2 separate regions of the Homo sapiens genome follow, and region 1 is linked to region 2. The links are contacts of gene promoters, found by promoter capture Hi-C in blood cells and fetal thymus (Javierre and others, 2016). All regions are on one chromosome and are shown on one strand. Each heading gives the region's core, a stretch centred on a gene start or on the middle of the fragment in contact. The rest is flanking DNA. Distances are from core to core; before and after follow the strand shown.

The links. The method cuts DNA at HindIII sites, captures the fragments that hold promoters and counts their contacts. A CHiCAGO score of 5 or more calls a contact.
Region 1: a contact is called between a fragment that was not itself captured here and the fragment with the promoter of SEMA4D in region 2, in 4 of 17 cell types (total B cells, monocytes, naive CD8 T cells and 1 more). The highest score is 6.4, in total B cells.

The regions. Positions count from the first base shown.
Region 1 is chr9:90,095,809-90,101,931 of GRCh38, reverse strand. No RefSeq gene overlaps it. Among named protein-coding and RNA genes, the nearest start is that of MIR4290HG, 57 kb to the right of the region's middle. RefSeq lists a silencer at 6,013-6,062 and an enhancer at 6,123. The HindIII fragment of the contact is 670 bases long and covers 928-1,597 here.
Region 2 is chr9:89,496,607-89,502,332 of GRCh38, reverse strand. SEMA4D (semaphorin 4D) reads left to right here and starts at 4,220. Exons shown (of 16, transcript NM_001371194.2): 1 at 4,220-4,414. RefSeq lists silencers at 4,131-4,320, 4,751-4,900. The HindIII fragment of the contact is 2,547 bases long and covers 3,801-5,726 here.

The DNA.
Region 1 (6,123 bases), core at 13-2,512, 600 kb before region 2:
ACATGGCTCCTTGTCCAGTGTACTCATATTGAGGTGTAGTGAAGATCAATAAGGGATATACAAATTAACCATTCAAAGTATTACAAGCAAAGGGCAAACAATGTGTCTGTCATTTAAAAAGTTAGGATTGGCCTTGCGCAGTGGCTCATGCCTGTAATTCCAGTACTTTGGGAGGCAGGCCCAGGAGGGCGGATCACGAGGTCAGGAGATTGAGACCATCCTGGCTAATACAGTGAAACCCCGTGTCCACTAAAAATACGAAGAATTAGCCGGGCGTGGTGGTGGGCGCCTGTAGTCCCAGCTACTCAGGAGGCTGAGGCAGGAGAATGGCATGAACCCGGGAGGCGGAGCTTGCAGTGAGCCGAGATCGGGCCACTGCACTCCAGCCTGGGTGACACAGCGAGACTCACTCTCAAAAAAAAAAAAAAAAAAAAAAAGAATTTATCGAGATAAACAGGGAAAACTATATTTTAAAGATCATCTGCTTATTTCCACATTTTTTAGTTGGATATATGAAATGTGCAATTAACTATCAACATAAAAAGTTGACTAAGATACTCAAAACTGAAAATCCTAAAATACCTACAGAAATAAATGAAACTAACATGGTTCTTAAGCCCCAAACTTAAGCAAGCACTCACATATTTGTCTCTGGCAGCCTGGCATATCAGCCATGTCTGAACGCCGCTAAATTTGATTCTTACTTTACCTACAGGCAAATAGCAGCATATGACTGTCTCTACAACATTCTTGACCTATAAATCTTCAAAGCAACAATGCTCTACTACAAAAGGAAAAAAAAACCAAGACCACGAGTAACCCATCTTCAAACTGTCACTCTAATCCTTTCTCTGACTGTCAGATTAAAGGTTGCTGCTGTCTGGAGGTCTGTGGCTTCAAATTAGAGATGAGATCATCAAAAAAGCTTAAATTCAAACTTCAGATTGCTGGCTTCACTATGCTCCTTGGTGAGAAAATAAATACGTAAATAGTTACCCATTAGACATGCTATCAAGAATAAGAATGAATCCTGCATACATGTAAAATATCAATAATAAGATATCAATAAACTTATTGACAATATTACAGGACACTCATGTCCAGTGGTGGTTAAAAATCCAGCCTGACCTTACAGTAGACATTGAGCTACATGCCAGTCAGTGATCAAGATCAAGGGAGGCAAGCTCTAGCCCCCACATCCAAATCCAACACAGCCTACTTGTGTATACAGCCTGTGAGCCGAGATGCTCTCTGGATTTTCAGTGAATGAAAACACATGAAAAGAACAAATACACTTTATGACCAATGAAAAACAAATGACATTCAAATTTCAGTATCCTTAAAGTTTTGTTGGGACTCAGTCACGTTTATATCTTTGGAGATTATCTATGGCTGGTTTCAGGCTATAAGGGCAGAGTAGCGTAGTTGTGACAGAGACCATATGGCCTACAAACCTGAAGATACTTGCTATCTGAGCTTTTATGGAAAAACATTGGTTGACCCCTGTTATAGACCATGGGCTTCAACCCTGGCTGGACAATGCAATCATTCTGAGAGTATTTAAAAGAACTGATGGGCAGGCCCTTCAGAGAAAGCTTTATACTAATTGGTCAGTTTTGATCTGGAAGCCCATGAAAGTTGATCGGTTGCCCTGTGGAGGACAGCACTGGCCTGCAGATGGATCTAAGTAGCCCAGCAGAACAGGCTACTTGTCGAGAGAACCAGATAAGTAAGTGTAATTTCAAGTTGCCCAGCCCTCCCCTTGGCCCTCTTCCCACCACCCTTGGCTTCTGAATATTTCCTTTGTGAGATTCTTTCTACAACAATGCCTTCCCAGGGAACATCCTTTGCTGCCTACCCTCCTCCGACAGATGTGCAAAGATGTGCACACTCAAAACACACCATCTCTCAAACATGCACGTGTGCACACGTGCACATATAAACCTGCAAACACACATGCATATATATTTACACACACACCGCTTGTGTGATCTCTGGAGCTCAAAAAAGTGGAAAGAGGATTCTATTAAATTAAGATTGTGAGTTTCTTATCCAAATTACGCACATCTCCTTCCCCTCATGGAATCCTCCTGGGCCCTTGAGCTTAAAAAATAAGCAGCTGTTCCTTGACCCAGATCATACTTATTTTAAGATCCAAAGCAGGGGTGTGCAATCTTTTGGCGTCCCTGGACCACATTTGAAGAATTGTCTTGGGCCACACATAAAATACACTAACACTAATGACAGCTGATGAGTTACAAAAAAATCGCAAAAGAATTTCATAAAGTTTAAAGAAAGTGTATGAATTTGTGTTGGGCCACATTCAAAGTCAGACAAGCTCGGTCTGAGGTTGTTTTCCTTTGAACTGGCTCTCTCACATTTGAACCCTTAGGTGGCAGTGGAAACTCACAGTTGAAATGCTTCTCTTTAAATGAGTGGTTTGTGGTGTGTGCTGTGTTGTGTGTGTATGCGTGTGGTGTGTGTAGTGCAGTATGTCATGTGTGCGTGTGCATGCTGTGTGTTTTGGTGTGTGTGTGGTACCTATATGTATGGTGTGATGTGTTTGATGTGTGTGGTGTGTGTTGTTTGTGTGGTATATGGTGTATGTATGTGGCGTATGTCTGTGGTACATCTGTGTGATGTGATGTGCTTGGCGTGTGTTGTGTGCAAGTATGTATATACCACATACAAGTGTATGTGTGTATGCCAAGTATGTATGTGGTATATACATACACATACTTGCACACAACAGTGTGTGGTGTGTTATGTTTGGTGTGTTGTGTGTGTGTGTGGGGTGTGGTTTGTGTGTGTGGTATGGTGTGGTGTATGATGGTATGTGATGTGTATGTGGTGTGTGGGGTATGGGGTGTGTATGTGATGTGTGCTGTGATGTGTGCGTGGTGGGTGGTGTGATGTGTGTGTGGTGCACATATATATGGGGGGTGTGTGGTGTGATATGATATGTGTGATGTGTGTGTGGTTCGTGTATGTTGGGTGTGTGGTGTGATGTGGCATGTGTGCTGCATGTATGTGGGGTGTGTGATGTGATGTGTGAGTGTGGTGTGTGGTGTGATGTGGGATGTGTGGTGTATGGTGTGATGTGGGGTATGTGGTGTGATGTGAGGTGTGTGTGCTGTGTGGTGTAATGTGATGTGTGCTGTGTGTGATGTGGTGTGTGTGCGTGAAGCACAGGTGTTCTGGGGAGCCCTTGCCTCACAGACACCACAGGGAGGAGAGGAGCGGCTGGATTAGGAAGCAGTGCCTGCCGGGTCTCGGCACTCAAGTGAGAACAGCAGACTCAGCCCTCAGTGAGTCCAGCCCCTGGAGACCAGGGCCCATGCTTCTCAGCAACAGCACAGAGAGGCCCGAACCCTGGGCAGCGACAGTTGCCGGGCATCATTGCCGCCCAGCCTTTCACTCCCAACCTTCCCATCTGGGTCACCGTCACATGGAGAGGAGCTGGGCTGGTGTGTGTTTCTATGGAGGCTCCTCGCAGGGCTGGAGGGCCTTTCTCCTCTAAGCTCCTGTGCTTTCTGTCATTGTCACTGGCCAGCGAGAAAGCAATGTGTCTTGCCTTTAAGTCTGTTTTTATGAACTCCCATTGATTGGGGAAAGCTAGCTGAGTATGTGGCACCACTCTCCGCTCTCACCTGTGGACAGGTGAATGTGCAGCCGCACTCTTTCAGGGTTCCACTGCCAGCTGCCCTGATGTAACCTCTCTGCTGGTGGTGGGGGGTAATTATTACTGAGCTGATCTTCTTTGGAAAGGACAATGGAAAAATCTGGCCCCAATCCTTTAGCCTGGGGCATCTGATAAGAAGGTTCTGGGACAGGTTGATAATGAAGTTCTTCCAGATATAAATGCGAGCTGGTTTACAGACAAGCAAGGCGTTGGAAGAAAGGAAGGATACACCCACAAACACCTAGGTGCCTTTGTGGCCTGGAGGGGTTACAATGCCCAAGAGCACACTTTGCTTGCTGCTGTATGGGTCTCTGGGAGCCCCACTTCCTCCTCTATAAAATGGACACATTGCCTTACCTACCCCAAGAGCATTAGGAGAATTAAGTGAGATCATGTGCCTGGGAAGGCTTTCTAAGCTAAAGCAGCGTCTGCTGATGCTGCCGGCATGGACAGTGTTTTCTGGGAACCGCTGTTGCTCTGGCATCCCCTCATCCGGGCTGATGCCTGCTCTTTCCTCCTCACCTTCCAATAGCCTCTCGGAGCTCAGCCTGCAACCCAGGGAATCTGGCATTTCTGCCAGTTGGAGGGCACAGTGCATGAGCATCCACCCCCCGCCAGCTCCCTATGCCAATGGCCCCCCAGTCCATCGTCCAGTCTTGCAGGAGTTATTCTGCAGGCTCCTGGCTGCTGGCATGGCCCCTTGGTCTTGTGGAAAGTGAGACAGCATAAGCCACAGCAGCTCTGCAGAGCTGGGGTGTCAACACTTAACTGTTCTAATAGGAACACTGAGAAACTTGCCCCTGAGTGGCCTCTCGGTTCCATCCCTAGTGTGCATTTGTTTATTTTGGAGCCTGGGAGACAGCAAGCACTGTGCTCGTTCACCCACATTCTGGGCCTGGGCGCATTGTGCCAATGTTACCCCTTACCTCGGAACAAGCCTGCTGGTGCCATTGTTCCTTTCGTTTAGCCCTGGGGACGCAGCATGTCCCCATTAGCTGGACACAAAACCAAGGCTTGAAAGAAGGGACCTCCTTACTCTGCAATGCTTCTTGGCTGCTCCCAAGTGAACCTGACCTTTTTCCTTACTTATTTGTGTCACAGTCTATACATATCCGGTTTCCTCTTACTCCAGGGTCAGGCCGCAGGTGAGATGCCCTGGCTTGGACACATATAGATACACTGAACACGTTTGTTAGACTCTAGACACTATTTATCATGGAAGGGAACTTGTTCTCCCAGAAAGGCAGCTCCTGACTTCTCGCTGCCCTCTGAGGGGCTGCCAAGCATGCCAAGACATTCAGGTCTGCCGCCAAGGTTTCTTTTCAAGACAGACACCTGTCTACAGAGCTGTGGTTACTCAACTTCTCCACCCCATCAGGCGCCAAAGAGCAGTTCCCATAACTTCAAGTTCCGGAGACCAACAGGGCATCTAGAAAAACTACCTGTGTATGCATCATTGGAGGGATTCACATCTCCTTCAAGGTGCTATCTTCAACCATACAACTCTCAAGCGCAGACCATGCCCTCTTCCCTGCTCAACCAGGGAAAAGCAATCATCTGGAAGGCACTGGACCTGCTTGGAGCCATGGTTGATATAAAATGAGGTACAGGAGAATTTCACTCCTCTGAGGTGTCTTGCCTGGGGTGTAGGTAACTGTGTGGCCCCAGTGCACACACAGGCCAGTTTGCAAACTGTGTGAGCTCTTTCGGACAACTCACACTGAACTTATTTGCATATTGAACAGAAAAAGATAGTTTTCTTCCCCTCTTATTCAGCTTTTTTCCCACACATTCAAACAATAATAATACATTAATAGTAATGGTGTTTGTGTGACCTAACTCCAGCAAAGAAACTCAAGCAAAGGGGAGAAAGGTGGACAGGTGTACCCCAAGCTCGCCAGCCGAGCAACTGCTGTCTTCCCCAGGGCTGCTCCAGGACGTCTTCTGATTCCGTGAGGGGGCAGGGTCCTGAGTCACAGCCCCCCTGGGGGCCTCGCACCTATCCAGGGCTTGGAGGGCATCTGCAGGTTTGACTTTTTCTGAGACATCCCTGTTCAATGTTAAATAGGCTCTACATAAGAAAACCAACAGTGTGCAGGATGTAGTCCTCATTGTCACTAATAATTGCTACCAAAACAGAGAAAGGTGTCAGTGCCAAATTTCCTGAGAGTTATATTAAGATCAGAAGTGTCTTTGTGCAACACTTCTCTGCGAGTGTCCACAGGCAGTGGGACAGAGCTAGGGAGGAAGAGGACCTCGGGGCAGGTGCTGGGTAGCACCTGTCAGACTTGTGTCTCAGCAGCGACAGAGCGGCAGCCGGCGCGGTTTACTGTCGCGGGCAGAGAGGAGCTGTTCACGGCTGCTAGCTTAGTAATTTGTAGATAATGAGCTCCTGGTAGAAGCCTGTGGGTTTCAGAGCATATGCTTCAACAGATGGGCTG
Region 2 (5,726 bases), core at 2,971-5,470:
CAAGTTCACTTGCTGGGGCAAGTCTAATCCAGCAGACACCAGCACTGATTAGATCAATGGTCAGATGGGGCCACATCAGCATCCTGTACACTCCCCAGTATGACGAAGGATGGCTTGGTAAACCATTCTGCATGTTCAGTGATGTGGGAAGTGCTGCCATGAGTGTGTGCACCAAAAATGGATTACACCCCTTCACCAGATTTATCTAGCACTTAGTGGTTTGACAGTTGAACGCTGTGCAGGAGCACAGAGCAATGATAACATCTCAGCACGGCCTTCATTTCTATGCTTCTGCTGGTGTGACCCCACGTTTCCAAGTGTGGCTTTAACAAAAAGAGCTCTGTGGGTCCTGTGGGGGTCTCAGTGGCAGTAAGGACATATGAGGGTGCTAGAGGTGCCTGGGGATCTCAGAGCCTTCAAAATCCCTTTCGGCTTCCTTCATTGACATGTTCTAACAATCAGGGTGCCTGACAGAGACCGGTGTGGACTCTCTATTTTGGAGAGGCTGGCCAGGAAGGCCACACTCTTACCAGCCTTTTCTGGGGTGCGGGGAGGAACAGAGCTAGGAGTAGGAGTCACAGCATGGTCTTGGCAGCCACTGCATGGTAACAGTGGAGGTGTGGCTCACCCACGTCTCTGCAGAGTGTGGTCACATTCAAAGGACATCTCCCCGGACTTTTCTAGAAGCTGCTGGCAGGTCCCAGAGCCAACCTTCCCACAGTCCCTCAGAGGACCCCGTTTCTCCACTTGCTGTGCTGACTCTCTCTCTAAGCTTAGCCTGGACACTCTGCATGCCACTACAGGTGAGAGGCGGCAGGCCGACTCTTTCTGAAGACACCTCCTCCACTGCGTAAGGCTCCACACTGGGCGATCTGGAAACGGCTCCCAGCCCACTACGTGCCTGTTCCCTCCTGCACTGCAAAGTGGAAGCAGAGGATCCTCTCTCCTCATATCCACCTGGGCCGTGTTGGAAGCTGAGTATTATTTGTGCTGCCATACTTGAGTTTTTTTCTCATATGGGACTTAACTATTATCAATCCAGTTACTATGCTCATATGCATATAGATGGTGTCAACATTCTGGCTGGGAAATGCAGAGAAACTTTGCAAAGCATGGTCTCAGTATCCAAACACTTGGCATTTCTGGGGAAACTAGGAAATAGATTGGTTAATATGATCTTTGATATGCTTGAACTTAATATTGGAGGGGAAAGTAAGGGGGTGAGAGGTAAGGCAAGATTGGAGTTCATTTAGCTACTTTTATTTTTATTTTTTGAGACTGAGTTTTGCTCTGTCGCCCAAGCTGGAGTGCAGTGGTATATGATCTTGGCTCACTGCAACCTCCGCCTCCCGGGTTCAAGTGATTCTCCTGCCTCAGCCTCCTGAGTAGCTGGGATTACAGGTTTGTGCCACCATGCCCACCTAATTTTTGTATTTTTAGTAGAGACGGGGTTTCACCATGTTGGCAAGGCTGGTCTCGAACTCCTGACCTCAGGTGATCCGCCTGCCTCAGCCTCCCAAAGTGTTGGGATTACAGGCGTGAGCCACTGCACCCAGCCTGCTACTTTTATATCTATGTTTGAAATGTCCCACGACAGAGTGTGAAACAAGAATAAAAAGGCAAGCTTGGTCACTTTGGGAGACATAGGCAATCATGCTGAGAGAAGGGAACAGGGAAGAAGGTCAGAGAGGAGGGAAGAGGAAGACCTAATAATGGCATCCAAGTCCCGGTTCTAATGGTACTTGGGGCATCTTTGGATGCAAGTGAGCCAATAGTATGGGCTGAAGTTCTATCACTTACAACTAAGAGTCCTGTCTCCTTCATGAATGCAATAAACATGTTTGGGGGCAATTTTATATAAGCACGGTGCAAAGAAGCCCTTGTGTTCGCAGCCTGGGCATTGCGGAAAGCTTTTTGGAGTTTTTACTGAATTCTCTCATGTTCTTCTGTATGCATTAGGAAACAGGCTAGAGAGGACAGTATTCTGGAAGGTCATGATGCCAGAAGTGTGGGCCCCAGGACAGCCATGCAAAGTCTCTTCTTTGCCCTGGGCTGCCCTCTATTAGATTCTGAGCATGTGGGTCTAAAAGCCAGGAGAGAATTCAGCAGTTGTTGAGAAGCATACCCCTCTGCTGCTGGTCCCCTCCCTGCAGTGTGTTCCCAAGGTGGCCCCAGGCCTGTCTAGACGCTGGCTGTGAAGGGCACGCTCCTGTAGGGGCAGCCGGCTCTTCCACAGTGAGGTCTGTCAGAAAGCGCCCACGATAGGCAGGAATCCACTTTCTCATCTAATTTCCACCCATCTGTCCTCATTCTGCCCTTCATAACACCACAGAGTAATCCTTCTTCCCGGGACAGTTTTGCACATATTGGGGTTCTTCTGTCTTGTGCTCCACACATTGATTTTCTAGGCTGAAGACTCCCGGTGGGTCAACTCCCCTCCCACGGGATACTGCTGGCTGCCTTAGACACCAAGCAAGGGCATGGTATTCTAGATGTGTCTGACTAGTGAGGAATAAAAGAGAGTCCCCCCACCCCACCCCAATCAGTGCAATGCTTGCATGTGTAGATCCTAAGCGTGCATCCCTCCTTGGGTATAGAATGCTGTTAAACCAGTTCTGTCCTAATCCGTTCCCATTATGTTTCAATCCAAATGGGATGTGGAACATGGATTCATGGACCCCTACAATTGGAAAAGAGCTTGGAAAAGACTTCTCTAGTTTTTCCTGTAATAGTCACCAGCACTGAACCCGAGCACACGGTGCAGTGGGCTTTACCTGCCATTCTCTCTCCGTGCTCCCCAAACCCTCCAGGACGACCACACTGTCCTCATGTTGCAGGGTACAGAGGTTTGCTGAGGCCTGAGGTTATTTGGAAACTGCAGAGCTGTGAGTCAAGGGAGTCTATCAGATTCCAGGTCTGGATTCTTCAGCAAGAGGGTGGTGGCTGCCATGCCGTAGAGGGAGGAGGGGGTGCGTGCTCCACCCCACCCTGCTTGACACCAGCTTTGCCATCTTAGCCTTTGCTGGGCCGAAGCCCTATTCTCAGAGCTCCGGCACTGAACCACAGAAACCACAGGAGGCCCTAGAACGGAACTCTGAGACTGTTGGGCCTTTAACTCTGTGACTGTTGGGCCTGGGACTGGCTTCATTTGTAAACTCTGGCTCTCAGAGCCAGTGCTCAGCAGGAAAACAGCCTCAGGGCCCCTGCCCCTCAACAGCAGTCTGTAGTCCAGGGAGGTATCACCTGGCCTGGAGAGGGGCTCCCCAACTCCTCACATTTAGGGGAAATCTTAGCTGGTTCCGTAAGAAACTGTGTCCCCTTCTCAGGACTGTGTTCCTCAATAGGCCTCCCAGCCTGGCCAGTCACTGTGCGAGCCCTGTCACCTCTCCTGGGGGCAGAGGGAAGAGGTCTGGATGGAGCAGCACCATCTCTGAGGGCCCCCAGATCCCCAAACCCATGGGCTAGTCACAAACAAGTCTCACCAGCAGCCTCACAGGAGGACCATTTGCCATACAGAGTGGAAAATGATGAACGTTTGGCAAAAGGCTAGCACGGGGGTTCAGGGAAACCAAGACTCCAGGTGGTGCCAGCCCCTCCCCTGGGGAATGGGAGCAGCCTGGTGTGAAATATTCTTGCCCAAAGTCAGCAGCCAAGTGTTCTGGGTGCCACGTGCCTCACGCACACTGCAGGTCAGGTTCTCAGAAGAGCTGGCCCAGGGTCTGGGGGTGAAAAAAAACTGGGGGATTTGGGGGAGGCCTGGAAAGGGTGGGGTTCATCCAGGACCCCAGAAGGGGCAAGCTTGTCTATTGAGAGCTGGTGAGGAAGAGGGTGACAGGGCACCTCTTGGTCCTGGGAACGGGTGCTTGACTCAGCAGAGACCAACCCAGGGCTGAGGGACAACCCTCTGGGCCTGGCGGGGAGGCAAGAGAGATGGGAGGTGAGGAGGAAGGAGTGGGGAGCAAAAGTGGGGAGAAGGGGAGAGAGGTGGAAGAGTGTTGCGAAGGTGAAGAAAGAGGAGGAAAAAGAGAAGGGAGGAAAAGAAAGGTTGGGGGAGGGAAAGGAGGGAGGTGAGCAGGGGCGAGGAGGAGGGAGGAGGAAGGAGGAAGAAAGGGGCGGGGCCATAGGAGGGAAGAGAAGAAGGGGGAGAGGAAGGGGAAGGGAAAGGGGAGGAGGCGGGAAGGGAGGGGGAGCGGAGGAGGGGCCTGCGCGCCCGCCCCGCGCACTCCGTCCCCGCGCCGGCCTCAGCGCTCTCGCGCGCCGCAGCATCCCAGCCGCCGCTGCCGCCGCCGGGCCTCCCCGCCACCCCCTCCCCGGCCCGGCCGCCTCCCGCCGCTGCCGCCGCCGCCGCCGCCGCCATTCCTGGCGCCCGAACTCGCCCGGCCGGGAGCCGCCGCGGGCAGGACGCGCGCTGCAGGTAAGCGGCCGGGCTGGCGCGGGAGGGAGGGCGCGCGGGGCCGGGCAGGTGCGCTGGGGGCGGCCTGGACCCTCCGCGGAGCCCCCACTCCACACCCCTAGGCTCCTCACCGGACCCTCGGGGCCCTCCCCGAACCCCTGCAGGAGCCTCCTTCTGGGATCCCCGGACCCCTGGACTCCTTCCTGGATCCCCCCGGGGCCCCTCCTGGGACGCCTCCCAGAGACACCTACCCGGACCCCTCCGACCCCCTGGACCTCTCTGCTATCCCTCCCCGGCCTTCTCCCCTTCCCGGTTGCCTCCCCAGTCCCTGCGCGCAGGTGGCTCCTCTGGGCGCGGGGGAGCGGGGGCGCGCTGCATACCCGGGCCAGGGAGGGGGCGGTGCGCTCGGCCAGGCCCCGTCGCGCCCCGGCCCGCCCAGTCCGGCCCCGCCAGGTCAGGCCCCACTCCGGCCAGCCGGGCTCTGGCCGGGCCCCCGCGGGCTTCTATTTTGGTCGCGGAGGCCGCGGACCCTGTGCACTGGACCCGGCGCCGCGCACTCAGACAGGTGGGGCAGGTTGGGCCGCAGTGGTCAGGTCGCCGCCTTGGCAGTGAGTGCTGCAGGCCTCGGTTTCCTTTCGGGTTTTGGTTGCATTATTCTAGAACAGCCCAGGAGAACCACAAGCCTTAGCTTGGGCTGCACCTGTTGCAGCCGCCTAGTGAGCTGCAAGGGGCTGGCTCTACTGGGGTTATGCCAGTAAAAACGTGTAAAGGAGAGTTGAACTCGTGGTTGTCCTCTATTTTCTGGCTTAGTATTTTGGGGGGTAGGTGGGAGAGTGGGTGAATGGGAGTCTGTAAGTGGGCAGTTTGCGTCAAATGAGGCCTGGTGTCGAGGGCTGGGTCCTGCTTTCCGGAAGGTTTTCCACATGAAGTTGCTTTGCTTTTGTTTTGAAAACCTCACTCTGTGTTGAGCACATCCCAGGCTCGTGGGTGGCCAGGCCCCCGAAGGCCAAGCTGGACGTGGGGCCTGGGGCCAAGCATCTCACCCTGCTGTTCTGAGTCTTTTCAAATCCACCAGGCGCCACGGAACGGAAGTTTCCTTTCCTGGGGGTGACGTGACACCAGTGGCCTGTCACCTCATATGTGTCCTAGGCCTGGGGCCTGCCTGCTGGCTGCCCAGGCGAGGTTATTTGGGAATGTTTACTGTGTCCCAGAAACAGGCAGCTCTGGCCAGTGCAGGGGCAGGATTCTGGTAGAGATGATAATGCCCTGATTGTCATTTTGACAGTTGGTGTCTGCGTATATCATGTCTTGGTAGTCGTCAGCCAGAAGAAGA